Linked DNA regions of Homo sapiens: all the other regions are linked to region 3. Evidence: promoter capture Hi-C in human tissues and cell types (Jung and others, 2019). All regions are on one chromosome and are shown on one strand. Each heading gives the region's core, a stretch centred on a gene start or on the middle of the fragment in contact. The rest is flanking DNA. Distances are from core to core; before and after follow the strand shown.

Evidence for each region. Contacts are between HindIII fragments. The study calls those that stand out against the background at their distance.
Region 1: a fragment that was not itself captured here is called in contact with the fragment with the promoter of C1QTNF9B in region 3 in 1 of the 25 tissues and cell types used here (lymphoblastoid cells).
Region 2: a contact is called between a fragment that was not itself captured here and the fragment with the promoter of C1QTNF9B in region 3, in 1 of the 25 tissues and cell types used here (lymphoblastoid cells).

What each region holds. Positions count from the first base shown.
Region 1 is chr13:24,174,875-24,178,709 of GRCh38, reverse strand. All of the region lies in intron 1 of SPATA13 (spermatogenesis associated 13), which reads right to left. Among named protein-coding and RNA genes, the nearest start is that of MIR2276, 14 kb to the right of the region's middle. The HindIII fragment of the contact is 6,907 bases long and covers 1-3,835 here.
Region 2 is chr13:24,156,252-24,160,072 of GRCh38, reverse strand. It overlaps a transcript of SPATA13 not described here. Among named protein-coding and RNA genes, the nearest start is that of SPATA13, 2.6 kb to the left of the region's middle. The HindIII fragment of the contact is 8,626 bases long and covers 1-3,821 here.
Region 3 is chr13:23,895,915-23,900,057 of GRCh38, reverse strand. It overlaps C1QTNF9B (C1q and TNF related 9B), which reads left to right and starts at 2,556. Exons shown (of 5, transcript NM_001007537.3): 1 at 2,556-2,640; 2 at 2,832-2,936; 3 at 3,052-3,237. The coding sequence starts at 3,072. The HindIII fragment of the contact is 9,082 bases long and covers 1-4,143 here.

The DNA of each region.
Region 1 (3,835 bases), core at 40-2,539, 280 kb before region 3:
CAGAAGGTGGTAACAGGCAGAAATGGCACAGTACAAAATGCTGGGTATAATCCCAGCTCAGCCATTAGATAGACTGGGTCTACTTGGTTCACTAAGTTTTTTGATCCTCTATTTGTTCTTATACAGATAATAATACCTTCCTAGCAATGCATGGCACAGAGTAAGCTCATTTATTAGGGTACTTATTACTACTACTGTAAATAACTATACTTGATCATAGCCAAAAGGCCAAGAAGCAATTAGTACTATTAATAACTGTATACAAGTGATGTCATAAGATAATGGTCAAAAAAGCTCTTACAGTTAAAAAAAAATGCATGTTCCTCAGAAGTATCAAAATGATGTCTACTCATTCCTTGCAGCCGTATCATAATGCAGTTCAATACATTTCTGCTAATTCCACAAGTATTTTTCAAGAGCATGCTCACAGGTGGCAGAGGTGGCAAGCAGTGGCTTCTGGAGTGAATGGTAGGAGCTGTTATTATTGGAACGTTTGCGCCTTCTGGAAATTTTTATGTTGATCTGGTGCAGATATTCCCAGTTTAAAAAACAATCAAGCCGGGTATGGTGGTTCACATCTGTAATCCCAGCACTTTGGGAGGCCAAGGTGGGAGGATCATTGGAATCTAGGAGTTCAAGACCAGCATGGGCAAGATGATAAGACCCCATCTCTACAAAAAACGAAATTTGCCAGGCATAGTGGCGCACACCCATAGTCCCAGCTACTTGGGAGGCTGAGGCAGGAGGATCTCTTGGGCCCAGGAATTTGATGCAGCAGTGAGCCATGATTGTACCACCATACTCCAGCCTGGGTGACAAAGTGAGGCCCAATTAAAAAAAAATTCATATGTTGAAATCCTATCCCCAAAGTGATTATATTGAAAGATAGGGCCTTTAGAAGGTGATTAGATCATGGTGGCAGAGCCCTCCTGAATGGGATTAGAGCCCTTATTAAAAAGGCCCAATGGCCAGGCTCATGCCTGTAACCCCAACACTTTGGGAGGCCAAGGTGGAAGGATCACTTAAGTTCAAGACCAGCCTGGGCAACACAGGAGACCCTGTCTCTACAGAAAATTTAAAAAATTAGCTAGGCATGGTGGCATGCAACTGTAGTCCCAGCTACTGGGGAGGCTGAGGCAGGAGAATCACTTGAGCCCAGGAGTTTGAGGCTCCAGTGAACTACGATTGCAGAGTAAGACTGTGTCTAAAAAAATAAAAATTAAATTAAAAAGGCCTAAGAGAGACACCCTTGCCCCCTTCACCATATGAAGACACAGTAAGAAGGCACCATTTATAAACCAGAAAGCAGGCATTCACGCCGACAGTGAATTTGCTGGCACCTCTGTCTTAGGCTTCCTAGCCTCCAGAGCTGTAAGAAATAAATTTATAATTTCTGGCCAGGCACAGCCAGACACACTGACATATGCCTAAATTATTATGAAAGTATCTGATCTCTTTTTTTCACATATCTATTAAAAATTTCTTAATTGTTAAAAGTAACTGAGTCAGAGAAGTAAAGCAACGTTTGTGTCCACTATTCTTTGATTAATTAAGGAATAATTAAGAAACAGAATTGACAAGGTAATTTTCAACTCCTTTTTGTACTAGAGAGAAAGGAGGCTCACTAACAAAAGTATATACTACAGGCTGGGTGCGGCAGCTCGTGCCTGTAATCCCAGCACTTTGGGAGGCCAAGGCTGGTGGATTACCTGAGGTCAGGAGTTTGAGACTTAGCCTGGCCAACATGACGAAACCCTGTCTCCACTAAAAATACAAAAATAAGCTGCGCGTGGTGGCACACGTCTGTGGTCCCAGCTACTCAGAAAGCTGAGGCACAAGAAGCCCTTGAACCCAGGAGGCGGAGGTTGCAGTGAGCCTGGGTGACACAGCAAGACACCATCTCAAAAGAAAAAAAAATTATATACTACAGCATGAACTTGTGATCTATTAATAATTAATAGCTAATCAATCATTTCATTATCATTTAGATATGTGAACTTCTTTAGAGAAATTACCAAGCTCCATTTTCACAGAAAACACAGTAAATTCAATGAAACAGGTCCAAGGTGAGAGAAAGAAGGCTGACTGAGGGTCATTTCTGGGATTCCTGCCAGGACCCAGCGTGCTTAATCTGTCCTTGGACTTGCCTGGTCCCATTAATCAAAGGATCTAGTTTGCTGGGAAAATAACATGTTTTTGTGATCTGAAAAGCAGAAATTAAAAGGAAACTGTGACATCATGGGGAAAAAGAGAGCAAATACTATGATTTATTTGGCTGTATTTTCCAACTTTTCTGTAAAGATTACATGAAAAGTAATAGACCAAGGTCTTTGCTGCCCTTCCAAAGTTGTAACTGGTAAATAAAATGGGTTAAACTAATGGGGTGTTTACAAAACATAAACAACTTTAGTACTGACACCAGATCTGTTTAAGTTCAACATGACTTATGTAGATAGTCCTTATAAAATTGTGTTATGGAAAAGACAGGCATAAGTAACTTTTTGCAGTGTATATGGAGGCTTCAATTTCTCAAGAAATAAAACAAAAAATGGATATAAAGCCTGAGAAATTTACACTTGGACTCTACCTTTGTAACAATCACACTTAAGAAAGAAGCATACACCAGGAGCTGAGCAAGCTCAGATCCCCCACGCCTGCTCCAGTACCCAGCAGACAGGAGACACGCAGAGGATGCTGTGTTTTGAGTTGAAGGTGACTCTGTTAGCATGTCATAAAACATGCAGTAGTTTTCCTGCAGAGTATTTTAACTATCGCTTTTCAAATTTAAGCTGCATTATTTGCAACTAAAATAATCTTCAAGGAGAAATTTATTTATGTTTTCTAGTAATCGCTCTGCATAGAAGCCACTGGGATTTCTAAAGTTTCTCTCCTGTGGGAGAAGAAAAATGACACCTAGATCCGTGTCTCTCTAGTTTATTTTTATATCCTCAGGGACTAGCACTATGTCTGGAACAGATGAGGTAGTCAACAAACTGTTTAGAAGAGATGAATAACCTAGCTTTTATAGTAATGATCCATTTCCCTGTTCTAAGTCTAATTAAACTGGTAATTAAATAAATACTTGGTAAACATTAAGGTAGTTACTCATAAACATTACTCAACAAGAAATCTAGATAGACAACTCTGAAACACATCCCTTTCTTCTAGCCCTAACTGGCAAGTTTAGCTGTCTGGACTCTGATTCTGAGATCAAGCTGGGTTTTCTTCAGAGTTTCTAATTCTAAAACAATGGTGCGATGAAATGGCCCCTCTTTGGTACCTAAATTATCAATAGAGAACACTAACTCCTCTCTCTCCTTGTCAAAGTTGCCCTAAATTGGCAATGTAGACTTTTAGCCTCCCTATGTTTGCTAGGCACTATGATTTCAAGTTATCTGCTATCCAAACTTCACTTTCCTTTTTTCTGCCAAAGAAACAAAACAAAACAACAACAACAACAAAAACAAATTAAAAAAAACAAAAAAACAAGCATCACTACTGAGTCTGTAGCAAAACAGTCCACTGCAGGATTAATGCCCTCGACCAAAAGGATTAGAGAGCTACAGAACTCCGCCCTAGGACATCAGAATACACATTCTTTTCCAGTGCCCAGGGAACATATATCAAGATGGACCAATACCCCGGGCCATACAAACCTCAACAAATTTAAAAGAATTGAAATCATATAGAGTGTGTTCTCTAACCGTAATGGAATTAAACTAGAAATCAGTAACAGAAAGTTAACAAAAAAATCTCCAAACATCTGGATATGAAACAACGCATTTCTAAATAATCCACAAGTCAAGGGGGAACTCTAAAGGGAAACTTTTAGGCT
Region 2 (3,821 bases), core at 1,283-3,782, 260 kb before region 3:
GCAAGTCTTGAGTAGACTGTTGCAGTAAACCGACTCAAAGGCCTATCACCTTTCTTGTGAGGCTCAAGGCCTAATCATTAATTGACATGAAAACCACAGAAGAGAAGCAAACCCTTCTGTGCTGGGATCTGTGCCCCAGTGCTCCATGTTCCCTGATAGGCAGCTAATGGAATTCATAAAATAAATGCATGCTTTCTACCAGTGTAGTTTTTTAGATGATTCATTTAGTGGCCAGCACTATTATTTATAAATGTCTATTGTCTTTTATAATCAAAGAACAATACCCACAATCTGTAAAATAAAAAACAAAAATTATATTACCCAATGAAAAGTGAAAATTAATTTTATGTATGTTTTTTAAAATATTGAAAAAACTCTGTATGACATTATAATGGTGGCTTCATGTCATTATGCATTTCTCAAAACTCACAGAATGAACAGCATGCGGCGTGAGCCTCCTGTAAGTAATGGACTTAGTTCATCTTAATGTAACAACATGGGCCCATCAATCATAACACATGTGCCACTCGAATGTAAGATGTCAGTACAAGCAGCTGTGTGTGGAGGGAGGGGCGTGAGGGAGTACATCAGAACTCCGTGTACTTTCCATTCCTGTTTTCTAAACCTAAAACTGCTCTAAAAATAGTCTATTAATTAAAGCACACTCCAAGATTAATGATAATTATCTGTGGGTGGTGGAAATATGGGCAAATTTTATTTAATTCTTTGAATTGTTATTGAAATTACCCCAAGTTTTAACAATGACCATGTATTTTTAAAGCTGAAAAAATATAAAAACCAAACCTTGGAAAATTTTAGAAACATAGTATGTGAGGCTAATATCATTGACTGTTCCATTTTATTTCTACTCTATAAAAAATCTGCACAAAGCACTCACAAATGCTAAAATGAAATCTATGTTAGTATTATTTAAAAAAAAATATCACGGTCTAAATTGAGGGTTTTTTTATTATCTCTTTAGAATTAGCACAAATCTGAGGAGCAGATTTTGATTTTTCTTTTAAAAAAATTGTGTTTCAAAAGGTTATTTCTGCCTACTTGGAAACCACTATTAACATTTACATGCAATACTTTTTATAGTGAAGAAAGCACTATATTTGAAACTATGTCCTTGGGAAACAGGCCTGGCCCTCAGATGAATGGATTTCTGTGGAGTGATACCAACTAGACCTGAAGACCCCCGCATCCTTGAGGCCCTGTACAAGCCCTGGGCGAGTGCTGGACCTTGCTGAATCTCAGCTTCCTCGTCAGTGAGCCGGTGACAGTGGGACCTCACTCTGCATTGGGTGGAGAATTAAAACTTTAGCCCATGTAAGACTCTTACTATCTATCAACTTAGCACATACAGGTGCTTGCTGATTGTTTGTTTGTGAGTTTTAAAAAATATTTTTTTCAGGGTTTCAGTGAAAACCTTTTGAGCGCCTGGGATAAAAGATATGTCTGGGTTCAGATTACAAATCTATTAGAGGAAGGCAGGATGGCTCAAGAGAAAATTCACTGATCTGACATGAAGAGGCGGCGCAGTCCAACCTGGCTCTAACCAGCTGTGTTCATCACGGGAGTACATCACCAGCCGACGCTTATTCTTGCTTTTCCATTCTGTTAAGTCAGAGATTAGGACGAGCAATAGCTAAATTTCCTTCCATTTCTACCATTCCTGCGGGAATCACAATGTGGCCTCTGTGTAAAAGCCTAGGTCTCCCGCAGTGGCTTTCTGTCAACATGGCTCTCTATCCACATGGCCGCCATCACTCACAGCCTCGCAGACAAGGCCGGCATCTGCATTCTGTTGTTTCCTGCAAGTGGGAACCTCCAAAGGTCGGTGACCTCTTTTCTTCTCTGCTGATCTTTTGGTACTCAAGACTCTAACTGGAGCCTGAATATTCAAAACTTTCACCCAAGTTCGTCCTAACAACACTGATGCTTTCTGCAGGAGAGTGTCTAAGGATAGAAACTACCACCTCTCACTAAGTCTAACGCGCTTTTTTTGTTGTTGTTCCACATAACATCTCCAAAACTAGAATGTGTCTTTCCCTTAATATTTGTTGGACACTTATGCCACGTTGTTTACATTCATCATTTTCTTAAATCCTCAAGACAATCCTTGAGGTACAGTTATCCTTCTCATTTTATATATGGGGCAAATGAAGTTAGAAGGGTTGAACGAATCATCTGAGGTCACACAGCTGGTGAGCAGTGGAGCCAGGATTTGATCTCATGCTCCTGTTTGAAAATGCTCTGAACAAAGCAGTGCTGTGAGCTCCCCCAGGGTTGGGGAGAAGCAATGCTGTATTCCATCTGCTGAAAGTTCCATTCAGCAGGGGTTTCTCAAGAGGTACAGGGCAGAAAGGAAACTCCTTTCTCCTCATTTCAGTTTTTTTTCTTTGAGGAGCTCCTATAAAGTAACCCGTATGGCTTCCGCCCCACCCTCTACTGCAGAAAAAGGAGTTACCAGCCGGGCACGTGGCTCACGCCTGTAATCCCAGCACTTTGGGAGGCCAAGACGGGCAGATCACGAGGTCAGGAGATCGAGACCATCCTGGCTAACACGGTGAAACCCCGTCTCTACTAAAAATACAAAAAAAATTAGCCGGGCGTGGTGGCGGGCGCCTGTAGTCCCAGCTACTCCGGAGGCTAAGGCAGAAGAATGGCGTGAACCCGGGAGGCGGAGCTTGCAGTGAGCCGCGATCGCGCCCCTGCACTCCAGCCTGGGTGACAGAGCGAGACTCCATCTCAAAAAAATATATTAAAAAGAAAAAAAAGAAAAAGGAGTTACCTGACTGGTTGGAGAAATCCATTGGTAGACTCCCTTGATAGAATAACCTGATTTATTAATTTATTAACAGCACAGAGTATTCACTCTTTTTTAACCTTTCCGCCCAGACTACGGCTGGGAGAAATCTGCGGTCAGTGTCTGGATGCCACAGACCAGACTTTCACCTGGAGGAAGTAACTTAAGGTCTAGACCGGGTTAGGGAAGCAGAGGCAAAGGAGCTGGGAGGTCACTCAGAGATCATTAGCAACAATTGTGCACTCATTCTCCAGATGATTTTGTCAGTAATATCACTGACATTTTTATCTTCATCTAGCAGCCTCCAGCATCTTGTTGGTTGTGAAGGTGGCAGGGGACAAAAGGGGGTTGGTTGAACCACAGATGCCTCTGGCACATAAGGCAAGACCCAAGAGAGCAGGAGAGAACCTGAGCCTCTTCTGCTCTCTGTCCATGTGGGTTCTAGGAAAACTTCATAACCTCACTTTGACCGGCTCCTTATCTGTGATATCTTATGGTGAAAATTAAGTGTAATAATGTATGTAAAGTCCCAGCTCACTGCCTGGCACGTGGTCAAATGCTCAATAACTGGTGGCTATCATTGATTAGAATGGATAAGGTGCGTTTGCTATATTTTATTCTACAGTTTACTAGAGCAGATCTCTCTCTAATTTGAAGCTTCCTAGGATGACAGAATAATGTTTGGCATTTATCACATTATCTTAGCACATAAGTATCTATTTGGCTATTGGGGTGCTGGGAAACCCAATTAATTGAGGCACAGAGAGGAAAGCATTTTGCCTCCAGGAATGGGTCATCAAGGCCAAAGGACTAGAGTACAGATGGGGTGGGCCAGGAGCCAGATCCAGTGTGCCATCTACGGTGCCTCCCTGTCTGCTCGGAGACAGGGCCCCCATCACACCTGGGTTTGGAGGGGGGAATACGAATGGGCAGGGCAGCTACAGGCAAAAGAGGAGAATAAACGGTCTCACGCTGTCCTCACAGTTGCTGTGGACAACAGGTATGGCAA
Region 3 (4,143 bases), core at 1,307-3,806:
AACCTGACACCTTTATGATCTTCTGATCATTTTATTCCTGGAATAGTTGTACTCCACATTTTGAAAGGCTAAAATGAAAATTATAGAACCCTCAACAAAGTTTGGTTGATGGAATTTCGATTTGACTGTTTCCAGCCACTTCTGAGTTTAACAAAGGAGGCTCATGTATATTCTTCATGGAATTTGGCTCCAAGAAAACTCAACTCAATTTCCTGGAATGGAGCGGATTTGTGACTTCAAAGAGAAACATCTGCATTTCCTTTTCTAAAAATACTCCATTTGCATTAGACTGCACCCTGTGACATTTCCACCAGATGGCAATACAGTCTTTGGATGACAGAGAGTCTTGCTGGTTTTCAAAATCTAGAAATATTTGTGTAGGCACTATAAAAAAGCATTTTTTAAATGAAAAGCTCCCATAACTGCCCCGCATTCTAAAGCAACCATCTTTATTTGCACATACTCACTTTGAGTTTTTGTCAATATTCATACAGTCGTTAAGTACATTTATAATGTGCATGGCATTTTAGTCTGCTATCAAAATTCAGCACAACATATATCATTCACATATTTCTACATGACCTTCATGATTATTGCAGCAGTTACATACTATTACACATAGTAAACCTTTCCCCTATTGTTACATAGTATGTAGTATGCACTTTTTCACCTGTTATAGATAATGCTGCAGGTAATGGCACACAATTGGCACACAGTTTTGGAACATTAGGAAGAACTTTAGGGATAGGAATACAGGGTGAAAGACATAGATGTCTTTTGCTCTTTAACTTTTCCAGAAAGATGTGCAGATTTACGTGGCTATCAGCACTGTGAGAGGATCTGGGTTCTGACCAGTTGCACTAGGCCCACGTTTTTGTTTTACTTTAATTTTTTAAATCCTAAAAGTCAGGTGCAGGGGCTTTAGCCTGTAATACTAGCACTTTGGGAGACTGAGGTGGGAGCTCAGGAATTCAAGACCAGCCTGGGCAACAGAGTTAGACCCAGTCTCAAAAAAAAAAAAAAAAAAAAAGAAAGCGAGAAAGAAAACGAAAGGGAGGGAGGGAGGGAAGGAAGGAAGGAAAAAAGAAGAAAAGAAGAGAAGAGAAATTAGGGCCAGTGGCATTGGGTCATGCCTGTAATCCCAGCACTTTGGGAGGCCAAGACGGGCAGATCACCTGAGGTCAGGAGTTTGAGACCAGCCTGGCCAACATGGTGAAACCCCGTCTCTACTAAAAATACAAAAATTAGCCGGGCGTGGTGATGGCGCCTGTAATCCCAGCTACTCGAGAAGCTGAATTGCTTGAACCTGGGAGGCGGAGTTTGCAGTGAGCAGAGATGGCACTCCAGCCTGGGTCACAAGAGTGAAACTACATCTCAAAAAAAAAAAAAAAAAAAATTAGCCGGGTGTGGTGGTGCATGCCTGTAGTCCCAGCTGCTTGGGAGGTTGAGGCAGGAGGATCACTTGAGCTGGGAGGTTGAGACTACAGTGAGCTGTGATTGCATGACTGTACTTCAGCCTTGGTGATGGAGCAAGACCTTGTCTCCAAAAATTATATATATATCCTAAGACATCTCCCATGATGATACATTAATTTCATTCAACAAGTATTTGTTCAATCTGCTGTTCCAAGTTTAATATTGAGTACTGGGAAGGCAATAATGAGGAAATACAGTCAGGCGGGGAGTCAGATTCTTCATCCTACAATTATGTAAACAAGTGTCAAGCCCCTGCCATGACAAGCGCCATGTGGGAGAGTAACAGGGTGCTCCACAGCCCTGAGTGGGAGCGTTGCTGAGTCAGGAGGCCCAGCCATCCACGTTTCATCTTCCTTCCAGGCCTTGCGTTTGCTGCTCCGTTTGGAGCACTGCCCAAGCGTTGTCTTAGCTCCTGCTGCGGGGGAAACTGCATGGATAACCTGGGGTGGGGGCAGTGTCTACAGAGGAAAGGACTTGAAAATGCACTTCTCCCGAACTAGGTGATGTTTTCTGTGTGTGTGGCCCTTCTTCACAGTGGCCTCCTAGAAAAACAAGACCCTGACTCAAAGAATACCTCTCATTACAGTAAGACTGTTTGGAATGCTTTACTTTTTTAAAAATTTAATTTAATTGTTTAATGTGGTAAAAAAAATATATAACATAAAACTAACCAGCTTAACCATCTTAAGGGCACAGTTCAGTGGCATTAAGTACATTCTCTTTGTTGTGCAACCATCACCACCACCCATCTCCAGAACTCTTTTAAAATCTTCCCAAACTCTGTACCCATCAAACAACTCCCATTTCCTTCTCTCTTCACCTCTGGCAACCATCATCCTACTTTTTCTTTATATGAGTTTGACGGCTCTAGGAACCTCTTATAACTGAAGTTATCCAGGTCTGTCTGTTTGTGACTAGCTAGTTTCACTTAGCATAATGTTCTCGAGGTCCATTCATGTAACACATGTCAGAATTTCTTTTCTTTCTAAGGCTGAAGAATATTCCATTGTATGGACCTACCACATTGCATGTATCTGTTTATCCACTGAGGGACCCTTGGGTTGCTATGGAAAATAATGCAACTACGAACATGGACATCTGTTCTAGTCCTTGCTTTCAATTATTTTGTGTAGATGCACAGCAGTGGAATTGCTGGATCAGATGGTAATGCTATGTTTGCTTCACTATTTGTCATGTGCCTTTATGCATATTGTGATAAAATTTGATTTTTACAATAGTCCTGTGAGATAAGTAAGCATTGGTCTGTGGTTAAGAGAAGTGATTTCTTCAAAGTGAAATGATGAACGGAAGAGTATCCTGACCTTAAACTTGGCTTTTTTTTATTGCCCGTTCAGCTTGAAGAGTGGTTCCAATCACAAGTGTTACCTTCCAAGGACAATGTCATCCTGGTAATAACCAGCTTGCTCCCCTGCCCTGAGTCTTCTGCCAAGTCTGTCCAGGTGTGGGTCTGGGGCAGGGGACAGCTCATCCATTTCCCACTGCACAGAACGGAGGCTGTGTCCAGGGCCCCAGCAACAAAGGTTTCTCCTCTGGGTTTCTGTTTCCCTCTTTCAGTTCAGTCTGTCATCTGAACCATGAGGATCTGGTGGCTTCTGCTTGCCATTGAAATCTGCACAGGGAACATAAACTCACAGGACACCTGCAGGCAAGGGCACCCTGGAATCCCTGGGAACCCCGGTCACAATGGTCTGCCTGGAAGAGATGGACGAGACGGAGCGAAGGGTGACAAAGGCGATGCAGGTACTCACCTGACGGCTTCGGCTGCCTTTGAGCTTCTCTCTTCATTACTTTCATCTCATTCACTCATCATCTGTGTGGTTTTCCACCTACCCACTCACAACCCATCCATCCATCCACCCAGCAACATTCACTGGAGCCTGACCCCATTCATCCATCCACCCATCTGCCCAGCAACACTCACGGGGTCTGCTCCATGCCAGACTCTGTGCCAGGTGCTGGTGGAGAGCACAGGGCCAGATCGCCATGACCCCTGCCCTCCTGGGTTCTCTCATCTCTGACACCGCAGGACATTTTCAGTAGTATACAATGTCATGGATCCTCCCACCTCAGGTGACAGGTATGTTGGATTTTTGGCAACACGAGGCCAATAGAGAGATCTGATCATGAATTATTTGGCAGCAAGCACCCAGCTGCAGTGCAGGTGAGAGCTAATACCATATCATGTCATGAAGCAGGAGATGCGGAGTGACAGATGACACATACAGCTGCTGCTTATGAATCTATGACCTAGGCAGGGTCTGGGGATCTGGGGACAGAATCCATCCTCTGGGAGGGAGATTTGCCAAAGCCTGGAAGTCTGAGTGCTTTCCATAACAACAACCAATAGACTTGGTTTCTGAATGGGGTACCATTCTTGAGGCCTGGTCTTGACCATAGGGTCACATATCTAAGACTTATGCAGAATGATTCACTGGGTTAAGAGCACAGTTCAGTGGCATTAGAAAGAAAATATCAAAACTTCTATGGACCTTTTTACAAATAAGTTTGTGTTTCTAACATGTCTCACTTTATGGCATTTGGTGGCCTGATAGTTTTTTGAATGGGCTGGATGAAGCCAAGGGTCACCAGGAAGCAACTTTATTTCTTTCTAACCGGCACATCTGCTCTGTGAGGTGTCTTCTCCTG